2 separate regions of the Homo sapiens genome follow, and region 1 is linked to region 2. The links are contacts of gene promoters, found by promoter capture Hi-C in human tissues and cell types (Jung and others, 2019). All regions are on one chromosome and are shown on one strand. Each heading gives the region's core, a stretch centred on a gene start or on the middle of the fragment in contact. The rest is flanking DNA. Distances are from core to core; before and after follow the strand shown.

Evidence for each region. Contacts are between HindIII fragments. The study calls those that stand out against the background at their distance.
Region 1: a fragment that was not itself captured here is called in contact with the fragment with the promoter of SLC8A3 in region 2 in 2 of the 25 tissues and cell types used here (H1 embryonic stem cells and pancreas).

The regions. Positions count from the first base shown.
Region 1 is chr14:70,306,988-70,313,602 of GRCh38, forward strand. The region is part of intron 4 of LOC101928046 (a long non-coding RNA gene); the gene reads left to right. Among named protein-coding and RNA genes, the nearest start is that of COX16, 49 kb to the right of the region's middle. The HindIII fragment of the contact is 4,589 bases long and covers 1,651-6,239 here.
Region 2 is chr14:70,187,614-70,193,529 of GRCh38, forward strand. It overlaps SLC8A3 (solute carrier family 8 member A3), which reads right to left and starts at 1,338. Exons shown (of 7, transcript NM_182932.3): 1 at 766-1,338. It also overlaps the pseudogene LOC646548. RefSeq lists silencers at 773-912, 983-1,312. The HindIII fragment of the contact is 13,926 bases long and covers 1-5,916 here.

The DNA of each region.
Region 1 (6,615 bases), core at 2,695-5,194, 120 kb after region 2:
TCTATTGAGATAATCATGTGGGGCTTTTTTTTGGTTTTTGTTTTTGAGACAGAGTCTCGCTTTGTTGCCCAGGCTGGAGTGCAGTGGCGCGATCTTGGCTCACTGCAAGCTCCGCCTCCCAGGTTCACGCCATTCTCCTGCCTCAGCCTCCCGAGTAGCTGCAACTACAGGCACCCACCACCACACCCAGCTAATTTTTTGTATTTTTAGTAGAGATGGGGTTTCACCATGTTAGCCAGGATGGTCTCAATCTCCTGACCTCGTGATCTGCCCACCTTGGCCTCCCAAAGTGTTGGGACTACAGGTGTGAGCCACCGCTCCCAGCCCCAATCATGTGGTTTTTGTCTTTGGTTCTGTTTATATAATGGATTACGTTTATTGATTTGCATATGTTAAACCAGCCATGCATCCCAGGGATGAAGCCAACTTGATCATGATGGATAAGCTTTTTGATGTGCTGCTGGATTCAGTTTGCTAGTATTTTATTGAGCATTTTCACTTCAATGTTCATCAGGGATATTGGTCTATAATTCTCTTTTTTTGTTGTGTCTCTGCCAGGCTATGGTATCAGGATGATGCTGGCCTCATAAAATGAGTTAGGGAGAATTCCCTTGTTTTCTATTGATTGGAATAGTTTCAGAAGGAATGGTACCAGCTCCTCTTTGTACCTCTGGTAGAATTCGGCTGTGAATCCATCTGGTCCTGGACTTTTTTTGGTTGGTAGGCTATTAATTATTACCTCAATTTCAGAGCCTGTTATTGATCTATTCAGGGATTCAACTTCTTCCTGGTTTAGTCTTGGGAGGGTGTATGTGTCCAGGAAGGTAGATTTTCTAGTTTATTTGCACAGAGGTGTTTATAGTATTCTCTGATGGTCATTTGTATTTCTGTGGGATTGGTGGTGACATCCCCTTTATCATTTTTTATTGAGTCTATTTGATTCTTCTCTCTTTTCTTCTGTATTAGTCTTGCTAGTGGTCTATCAATTTTGTTGATCTTTTCAAAAAACCAGCTCCTAGATTCATTGATTTTTTGAAGGGTTTTTCATGTCTCTATCTCCTTCAGTTCTGGCTCTGATCTTAGTTATTTCTTACCTTCTGCTAGCTTTTGAATGTGTTTGCTCTTGCTTCTCTAGTTCTTTTCATTGTGATTTTAGGGTGTCAATTTTAGATCTTTCCTGCTTTCTCTTGTGGGCATTTAGTGCTATAAATTTCCCTCTACACACTACTTTAAATGTGTCCCAGAGATTCTGGTACGTCATGTCTTTGTTCTCATTGGTTTCAAAGAACATCTTTATTTCTGCTTTCACTTAGTTATTTACTCAATAGCCATTCAGGAGCAGGTTGTTCAGTTTCCATGTAGTTGAGTGGTTTTGAGTGAGTTTCTTAATCCTGAGTTCTAATTTGATTGCACTGTGGTCTGAGAGACAGTTTGTTATAATTTCTGTTCTTTTACATTTGTTGAGGAGCGCTTTACTTCCAACTATGTGGTCAATTTTGGAATAAGTGCCATGTGGTGCGGAGAAGAATGTATATTCTGTTGATTTGGGGTGGAGAGTTCTGTAGAAGTCTATTAGGTCTGCTTGGTGCAGAGCTGAGTTAAAGTCCTGGATATCCTTGTTAACTTTCTGTCTCATTGATCTGTCTAATGTTGACAGTGGAGTGTTAAAGTCTCCTATTATTATTGTGTGGAAGTCTAAGTCTCTTTGTAGGTCTCTAAGGACTTGCTTTATGAAGCTGGGTGCTCCTGTATTGGGTGCATATATATTTAGGATAGTTATCTCTTCTTGTTGAATTGATCCCTTTACCATTATGTAATGGCCTTCTTTGTCTCTTTTGATCTTTGTTGGCTTAAAGTCTGTTTTATCAGAGACTGGGATTGCAACCCCTGCTTTTCTTTTGCTTTCCATTTGCTTGGTAGATCTTCCTCCATCCCTTTATTTTGAGCCTATGTGTGTCTCTGCACATGAGATGGGTCTCCTGAATACAGCACACTGATGATGCGTCTTGACTCATTATCGAATTTGCCAGTCTGTGTCTTTTAATTGGGGGCATTTAGCCCATTTACATTTAAGGTTAATATTGTTATATGTGAATTTGATCCTGTCATTATGATGTTAGCTGGTTATTTTGCTTGTTAGTTGATGCAGTTTCTTCCTAGCATCAATGGTCTTTACAATTTGGCATGTTTTTCCAGTGGCTGGTACCAGTTCTTTTTCATGTTTAGTGTTTCCTTCAGGAGCTCTTGTAAGGCTGGTGGTGACAAAATCCCTCAGCATTTGCTTGTCTGTAAAGGATTTTATTTCTCCTTCACCTATGAAGTTTGGCTGGATATGAAATTCTGGGTTGAAAATTATTTTCTTTAAGAATGTTGAATATTGGCCCCCACTCTCTTCTGGCTTATAGAGTTTCTGCTGAGAGGTCCGCTGTTAGTCTGATGGGCTTCCCTTTGTGGGTAACGCGACCTTTCTCTCTGGCTGCCCTTAACATTTTTTCTGTCATTTCAACCTTGGTGAATCTGACAATTATGTGTCTTGGGGTTGCTCTTCTCAAGGAGTATCTTTATGGCATTCTCTGTATTTCCTGAATTTCAATGTTGGCCTGCCTTGCTAGGTTGGGGAAGTTCTCCTCGATAATATCCTGAAGAGCGTTTTCCAACTTGGTTCTCCCCGTCACTTTCAGGTACACCAATCAGACGAAGATTTGGTCTTTTCACATAGTCCCATATTTCTTGGAGGATTTGTTCGTTTCTTTTAACTCTTTTTTTCTCTAAACTTCTCTTCTCACTTCATTTCATTCATTTGATCTTCAGTCACTGATACCCTTTCTTCCATTTGATCAAATCGGCTGCTGAAGCTTATGCGTGCATCATGTAGTTCTTGTGCCATGGTTTTCAGCTCCATCAGGTCATTTAAGGTCTTCGCTACGCTGTTTATTCTAGTTATCCATTTGTCTAATCTTTTTTCAATGTTTTTAGCTTCTTTGCGATGGGTTTGAACATCCTCCTTTAGCTCAGAGAAGTTTGTTTTACTTACTGATCTTTTGAAGCCTACTTCTGTCAACTTGTCAAAGTCATTCTCCGTCCAGCTTTGTTCCATTGCTGGTGAGGAGCTGCATTCTTTTGGAGGAGAAGAGGTGCTCTGACTTTTAGAATTTTCAGCTTTTCTGCTCTGGTTTCTCCCCATCTTTGTGGTTTTATCTACCTTTGGTCTTTGATGATGGTGACCTACAGATGGGGTTTTGGTGTGGATGTCCTTTTTATTGATGTTGATCCTATTCCTTTCTGTTTGTTAGTTTTCCTTCTAACAGTCAGGACCCTCAGCTGCAGGTCTGTTGGAGTTTGCTGGAGGTCCTCTCCAGACCCTGTTTGCTGGGGTATCACTAGCGGAGGCTGCAGAACAGCAAATATTGCAGAACAGCAAATGTTGCTGCCTGATCCTTCCTCTAGAAGCTTCGTCTCAGAGGGGCACCCGGCTGTATGAGGTGTCAGTCGGCCCCTACTGGGAGTTGTCTCCCAGTTAGGCTATTCGGGGGTCAGGGACCCACTTGAGGAGGCAGTCTGTCAGTTCTCAAATCTCAAACTCCGTGCTGGGAGAACCACTACTCTCTTCAAAGCTGTCAGACAGGGACGTTTAAGTCTGCAGAAGTTTCTGCTGCCTTTTGTTCAGCTGTGCCCTGACCCCAGAGGTGGAGTCTACAGAGGCAGGCAGGCCTCCTAGAGCTGCAGTGGGCTCCACCCAGTTCAAGCTTCCCGGCCGCTTTGTTTACCTAGTCAAGCCTCAGCAATTGCAGACGCCCCTCCCTCAGCCTCACTGCCACCTTGCAGTTCAATCTCAGACTGCTGTGTTAGCAGTGAGCAAGGCTCCATGGGCATGGGACCCTCCCAGCCAGGCATGGGATATAATCTCCTGGTGTGCCGTTTGCTAAGACCATTGGAAAAGCGCAGTATTAGGGTGGGAGTGTCCCGATTTTCCAGGTACCGTCTGTCACGGCTTCCCTTTGCTAGGAAAGGGAATTCTCCGAACCCTTGTGCTTCCAGGGTGAGGCGATACCCCGCCCTTCTTTGACTCACACTCACATGGGCTGCACCCACTGTCCAACAAGTCCCAGTGAGATGAACCTTGTACCTCAGTTGGAAATGCAGAAATACCCATCTTCTGTGTCACTCACACTGGGAGCTGTAGACTGGAGCAGTTCCTATTCGGCCATCCCTTTCTAACTCTTAAACACTGACAGCAATTAAAGCCTCATCTTCAGGCCCCATAGAAGATGCCAATCAAAATAAACTACCTTCTTGAGACACAGGCCCAGAAATTAAAGCCGTTCAACTCCACAAGGCCCAGGGACTATTGTGGAAGAGGTGGGCATGTGAGATTGTGAGGGCCGATTTTAAGAGATAAAATAAGTTCAGTTTCTCTACAAATTAACCATTAATGTCAAAGTCACACCTCTGCAAGACTAGCATATGGGTAAAATTTGAAAAACAAATTTAATTGGCTTCATGCTATTTTTATTAGGGCTTATTATTTGGAAAATTAAGTCTTCTCTCTCAAAGAATGAAGGTTTTCTCTTTTTTGAAATCCTTGAGTTATCACTTTGGTTAAATGAATGACTTACTTTACAATGGCCTGTAATCCCATTTTGTGATATCAAGTGTTTTATTTATTTATTATTATTATTATTATTATTACTTTTTAAAATGGAGTCTCGCTCTGTTGCCCAGGTTGGAGTGCAATGGCATGATCTCAGCTCACTGCAACCTCTGCCTCCTGTGTTCAAGCAATTCTCCTGCCTCAGCCTTCCAAGTAGCTGGGACTACAGAAGTGCACCACCACACCTGGCTAATTTTTTGTATTTTTAGTGGAGATGGGGTTTCACCATATTAGCCAGGCTGGTCTCAAACTCCTGACCTCAGGTGATCCACTCACCTTGGCCTCCCAAAGTGCTGGGATTACAGGAATGAGCCACCATGCCTGGCCTGGTATCAAGTATTTTAAACCTTTGATATTTGACAAACTTTCCAAAATCAAATTATACATTATGTCATTTCTGACCTAATTAATCCTTTAAGATATTATTAATAGGATCCCTAAAGTCAAAAAATGACATGTTTGGCTTATTTGATATAGAAATTATACAGGAAGCATTGTCAAATATGAAATGGTATTTGGTTTTTCTTTGGGCCGTATTTGTATAAATATGTTGCTGGTATGTGTTCCAAAATTATGGGAAACTCCTATAATTCTGATATGACTTAGTGTATGTTATCAGTAATAATTATAATTGTTATGTTAAATTATTGTGTGACACAGAGGTAACAAATTTCCTTGTCAATTGTGTCTTTGACTACGGCTGCCCTTCTTGTCTTGTTTTGGTCCTCTTTAGAAGGTGGTTTTATAATCAGCTATAAAACTCTTAACAGGTGCTCTTGAATGCAGTTTTCTGATAGCTTTGGAGATTGTGACATCAGAATAGAGGAGAAACTTTCAGGGCTCATAGAGAGTTGAAATGCTCCTGAATAACAAACAGAATAGGAATTAAGTGCATGGACTAAACTAATAGAATAAAACGTTGCTGATCCTTTGTTTTGTTTTTCAGAGTCAAAAAGACTTTTAAGCTATTTACAGCTTTTAACAATTGAGTAAAGTATATTCCCTTTGTTTCTCTCTACCTGATTTCTACATAATTTGGGAACTATTTGTGAATATTCTTTTTTTTTTTTTTTTTTTTGAGATGGAGGCTTGCTCTGTCACCCAGGCTGGAGAGCAATGACACGATCTCAGCTCACTGCAACCTCCGCCTCTCGGGTTCAGGCAATTCTGCTGCCTCAGCCTCCCGAGTAGCTAGGACTACAGGCACCCACCACCACGCCTGGCTAATTTTTATATTTTTAGTAGAGGCGGGGTTTCACCATATTGGCCAGGCTGGTCTCAAACTCCTGATCTTGTGATCCACTCGCCTCGGCGTCCCAAAGTGCTGGGATTACAGGTGTGAGCCACTGCACCTGGCCTGTGAGTATTCTTAATTTATGATAATAGTTATTTGCATAAGTACAATAAGAATCTGTTTTCATTTGTAACAGGACACAATTGGAGAAACTGGTTATTTTACCAAGGCTTTGACTGGAATGGTGTGCTTTCCTTTAAGGAATCAAACTTGACTTATGGAGCCAATATAAGCCCCTTGGAAAAACTGGCCTTATATCTTTGTCTACACAGTCCCTGTACAGGGTTCCTGACCTGTGGTAAGTAAAGAATGTCACTTTCTGACAGGCTCAGGAGCCCCAAGTTTATCTTGGAACCTGAAGAAGAGAGGAATTCACCCAACTCATAAGTATTTGATGGTCCAAATCCATGGCTGGGCTCAGCTTTAAAAAAGTCTTATGTGAGATTCCTTCTATGGAACAAAATTCCATCAAAGCCAATTTAAAAGCCTATGTAAAAAATAAATAATTATTCTTGCTGCACTATATACAAATAATCAAGCCAAGTATAATAAAGCAAATCAGTCCTACCATGATTTGTCTTTTGTAAAAATGGAAAACTAGAGAGAGAAAAATTATATTTCAAAAACTGTAGTACACTTAATATGGTTTGGCTGTGTCCCCACCCAAATC
Region 2 (5,916 bases), core at 88-2,587:
TGTGTGTGTGTGTGTGTGTGTGTGTGTCCGCGCGCGCGTGTGTGTTGGGGGATCGGGGGAGGGTTAGTTATATATTTCGATTCTCTCCACCGAGTCCCGGATCACGCAGACCACCAGGGGCTGGAGAGTGCAGCACTGGAGAAACCCTCCTTCTCCCTCGCCCCCTTGGCCCCAGCGGTGGGTGCTCTGGGGCTGCAGCTCCCGACCCGCGGCGGTGGAGTCCCGAGATTGGGGTGAGCGCGTGCGTGCGTATGTGCACGCGGGCGCGCGCCGAGTGGATAACGCGCTTCCCTGCTAGCCCCCAAACCCGGCGGACACTCACAGCACCAGAAGCACAACACGCCCTGGCCCAGGTGGCACACATATGCCGACATGCATCCAGCACACACAACACAGCAGTCAGTCTCCCCAAACAGCACCCGCTACCAACCCAGCATGCTCACGATCCAACTGTACCCACCTGCCCAGGCATCTCTCTCTGCCCCTCCCCACCCGGCGGCACCCTCCTGTAGACACCCACTCTGCCAGATCTGCCCCCCCAACACTGCATACACAATGTACACTTTCCGGGGCACCCTCACCCCACTTCTCCTGGCACTAAATCCACAGGAAGGCGGTTCATATGAATGATCTTGAGAAATAACTTAACCCCGTTACTCACAATCAGGGATCCTCTTAGGGGCATCCCAAGCCCCCCAACCTCTACCTCCCATGTCTCGGCTGCCCGCTAAGGGGGAAGGGCAGGAGGCTCACCCCATTACTCACCGTTTCCTCTCGGCCTCCCGAGCGGAGTGGGCAAGGGAGGGGGGTGAGGAAGGTACGCGATGCCCCCGCCGCCCGGCGCCTCACCGGTCGCAGCGGCTCATCGCCCCCGCGGGCTGCCCGCCGGCCGCAGCCGCGTCCGGGGCATGTCAGTCCGCCGCCGCCGCCCTCCCGCCGGGGTTCGTGGGCTCGCAGCTGTCAGGGAGCTGCGGGGCAGCGCATCTGGAGCGCGGGGTCTGGGAGGGAGGGTGTCTGGGGCCAGGGCGAGGGGCCCCGGGAGGGGTCCTTCCGCACGGATTTCAGAAAGAGGGAAACCCCGACCCAGAGCGGTGACTGGAATCTACGCCCGGGAGAGGCCCGGAGTCCCGGCCGCGGGCGGCGGGGGATTCCTGCAGGAAGGGGCAGGAAGGCAAGCAGCCCGGCGCGCCCTGGCGGCTCCGAGGGACCTGGGCTCGGGCTTGCGGTCGCGTCGCCTGGGCTTTCCCTGGGCTGGGAGCGCGCCGGGTCTCCGCCTTGCACGCTGTCACCGCGGGAGACGTCTCGGCCTCGCCGCGCGCAGAGGGGACGCGCGGAGAGGCTGGTTTCTGGGCGAGCGGAGAGCTTTGCCCATTAAGCTGCCGGAAGAAGCCAAATCAAAAAGCCAATCTCCAAGCCTCCAAACGGAACGTCACCCTATCAGCTGGGAGACAGCGCCGCACTGACTGACAAGCCGCGCATATTTATCCTCGCGCGCGGAGGGGAGACTCTCAGAACGCTCCTCGACCAGCAGCGAGGAAGTCGAGCCCGCATCCCGCATCCCGCATCCCGCATCCAGAGCCCCCGAGGGACGAATTCAGATCCAACCCCTGCCCCGCGGCCACCCACCCTAGTCGTTGGAGCCTGGCGCCCGCGCCTCCCGGCCGGCAGCACGTCAAAACGGCGGCGCGTCCTGACCTGGATTCCGCCGAGTTGGGAGCTCCAGGCAGCAGGCGGGCGCGCGGCACCGGCTTTCCCCTTGTCCTCAGGAGACGCTGCCTGCAATTCCGAAATTAAGTCTCCACCAAACACATCTGTGGTTTTTAAATATAGCAGGGAACTATTACCCAGGCAGGGTCCACCCAGGCCTAGGGGAGGAGTTGAGGGGGATGGAGATTGGCAGCGGAGGGAAAAGAAAACTCCTTTTTTCCCCCTCTTTTTTTCTTCTCTTCTTGGTGCAGAACCCAGCCTGTCATTTTCTCAACCCAAGTCAAACAACAGTTTGTGAGAGACGCTTGGGTGAGCTCTGGTATGTTGGCTTTTCGGGTTTCTAAAGCTAAAAATAAGAGGGGGCTGCCTCCCAAATTGCTGCTTACTCTGGGCCTGGAGGCTGGAAGAGAGCTGGTCCTTTGATGCAGCAGCGGGACTAGGGCTTGGGGCTTGGCTCAGGCGAAGTGTACACACGTAGCCTTAAATCAGATGCCTGTAATTTCTGCTATATTTGTCAGGCTTGGTCCTAGAGGCATGCGGGGTGGGCAAGCCACTCCTAAGAATGGGGTTTCAAGCCCTCAGCTTATCGGTGGCATTAGGCAGATCTAAAATGAGCCTGGTGGCTGGCCTTCTGTAGCGACACCAGTGCAGAAAAGTCAGAATGTAAGGGCAGGAAGTTGTTCTCTTTCAGGCCTCTCTGCTGCCTGAGGCTAAGTGTGAGGGGCCAACAAATGATAATAATACTTACCAAATAGCAGCACCTTTTAAGGGCCAGGAGTGGTGCTAGTGAATTTGATTGTATTACCTCATGCCATCCTACTAAAACTCTGTGAGCTAGGTACAATTACCAACTCCATTTTTTTGTTGAGGAAATTGAGCCTTAGGTTAAATAACCATCCCAAGGCCACGTGCAGCAGAGCCAAGGATTGAAATAAAATGCAACCAACCGGAGTTGTGCTGAGACGTCAACAGTGTGTGTGACTCCTGAGATCCCTGGCTCCTTTGCCCGGCTGCTCTGGAGCAAGGCTTGGTTCAAACAGATTAAGGGGGTGTAGAGACTAGGGAATCTCTAAGCCTGAGATGGCAGGAGGTCTTTGCTGGTCCTTTGACTCAGTGTTCCGTTAGCAAGCTGTGTGGTGGTTTCTGGCCTGAGTCCGGAGTCAGAATCCTGGATGTGCTCAGTAGGAGCAGTAGGAGTGCTTTCAGACCCCTGAACCTTTATGGGTCTTGAATTTCATTTAAAGTTAGGGCTGGGACTGACTTTGAAAGGTTTCAATAGCTTCTAAAGTTGTGGGATCTCAGGATATGTCAGTTACTGGGACTTACCTTGTGTCTGCTCCCGTGGAGAGTCACAATGCTGAGTCTACACATTGAGAGTCTACAGTAGAGACAAAGAGATGGCTAATGGGCACCTAAATTGATAGAGTTTTTAGGTAGGGCAATTTTGAAAGATACATCAAATTCCTTAAAAACGTGAATGCCTGTGACCCAGTAATTTTACTGGAAGAAATTTATTCTATGGCAATCATTAAGGATATGCTCAAATATTTAGTTACAAGGATATTCATGGTAGTGTTTTTAAGAGTGAAAAATTGGAAACATCTTAATTTTCCAACACAACAAATTGGTGAAGTAAACATGTTTTGTTGACATAATGCTGTATTCTACCACTGTAAAAATACAGATGCAGCATTCTGTGTACTGGTGTGGAAAGGTTTTTATAATATATCGTAGACAGAGAGAAAAAAAACCCCAGAACACAGTGTAACACAGCATGTGCGGGGGTGGCGGGGTGGGGATGAATGCCCTGGCAGCATAAAAACCCCAAAATGGTAGTGGTTATCTCTTGGTGGTGGGATTTCTGGTGATTTTGTTTCTCTTTGTATCAATCAACTTTATTGAGGTGTAATTTACATACAACAACTCACCTTTTTTCTGATCTATGCTTTATGAAGGCATCAAAAGCAAGGTCTAGTGCACAGGCTAAATGACTATCTCAGTAGTGAGGAACATGAATCTGCAAAACTATCCCAGTAGTGAGGAACATGAATAATATTTCAAGATACCTGCAAAAACTAACTGATGATATTAAAATATCTGACATTTCTAATGGAGATAAAGTTACAGGTATCCAAACATCACTACTACTACTAAAAACTCACCTGTTTTAAGTGTATAGTTTGAAGAGTTTTTATACAAGTACATACATGTAGAGCAACAACCTCAGTCAAGACATAGAACATTTTCATCTCCCCCAGAAGTCCTCTCAGGCCCCTTTATACTCATCCGCTCTTCCCACAGGCAACTATTGATCTGCTTTCTGTCACTGTGGCTTAGTTTTGCTTGTGCCAGAATTTTATTTGTTTGCTTGTTAATATCTATTGATATATTTTCAGTGAACATTACCTATTCACTAAAACTGAACCAGCAACAACAACAGAATTGGTCATGTCATTTTTTTAGAACTACCAAACAAAACAGACAGGAACCTTGTCTTCCTCTTGTCACCTGTGACAGGGCAATGCTGCGGGGAGGAAGGCAAGAGGTGCCAAAGCATGTTCAACCAACGCTGTCGGCAGAGCTGACTTGCGTAGGTTCCTCTGAGTTCTAGGTAGACTGAAATAGCAAAGCCCAGCTCTGCATTCTGAGCCTCAGTGTCCTCACCAGTAAAATGGGAATAATAATAATTATTATTATTAATAATAATAATAATTATTATTATTATTATTAATTATTATTATTAATAATAATAATACCCACCTCGTGAGGTTGTTGTGAAGCTTCAGTGAGATTACAGTTTCTGGTACAGACCAATCCCCAAATATATATCAATTCTCCTTCTCCCCTACTTTTGTTCTCCCCCAACCCTGCTTCTCTCCCATCTTAAGTTCTACAGCCAACCTTCACGTGGCCTATGAAGTCTCAGACTGCTTTCAACTCTGGACATTCTCACTTCTTTTTTTCTCCCCACTACATGCATACAGGGTTGGAAAACATTAAATGTAATGACACCGTACTTGCATTTCTGCCATTGTTACTTATATCTAGCTGTACTGGAACCCAAGGAGATGTTCACAAGGAAGATGGAAAGTAAGCTGTGTAACATCAGCATTGGGAGCAAGAGCCACAAACCTCATTTTCAAGTTGGGAAGAAACTCAGGACCCGAGAAGCTACAGGATTCAGCCCAGTCACAGAGCTTGGTAAGAACTAGACAGACTCTTTTATGGACTGAATTGTGTGTCCCAAAACTTGTGTGTTGAAGCCCTAGCCCTTAGTACCCAGAATGTGCCTGGGTTTTGAGACAGGGTCTTTAAAAAGGTAATAAAATTAAAACAGTGCCGTCAGTGTGGGCCCTAATCCACTATGACTGCTATCCTTATAAGAAGAGGAGATTAGGACACAGACAGACAGAGGGACAACCTTGTGAGGACACAGCGAGAAGGCAAGCCAAGGAGAGAGAAATCAAATGTGCTGACACCTTGATGTGGGAGTTCTAGGCTCCAGAACTATGAGAAAATAATTTCTGTTAGTTAAGCCACTCAGTCTTTGGTATTTTGTCATAGTAGCCCTAATTCTGTGAGTCCTTGTCATAGAATACCCTTTCTCTAGAGGCTGAGCAGCAAGTAATAGGGCAGATGGGATGAATAGTGGGAAGGGACCACATGGCTTCTTGGTGGGGCCCCAGTATTTGCCATTATGCTGCAGAACTCCACAAGTCAGTGCCTCTCCAAAAGCGGGGCCTCAGGCACTTCATAAGCAGACGACCTGCCAGTCCTGGCCACCAGTGGCACTGCATCCCACACAAGCCACAGTGTCTCTTCTCACAAGCAACCTAGGTGCCAGCATTCCACAGCCCTTGGACTATACAATCTGATAGCAGTTGAGAAACAACAGCAGTCAAGTGGAAGCTAAAAGTAAGTTCTGGAACAGCTCTGTAGGGAGGATGGAAGTTTAGTAAACCCTGTCTGATAATAGGGTATTTATTTAGTGAGACATAATTCTTCCCTATGCGTTATATTATTTTTAATCTCATTATAACTTGTATTTCAAAAATTTGTCAATTATTTATTTTTCCTTTTATAAAGTTTATTGCAGTAGGATATACATACAGAAATGTGCACAAGTCATGACTATAGCTCAAAGAATTTTCACAATGTGAATATATTTTATTTAATCATCATCCAGAACAATAAATATTACCAGTACCC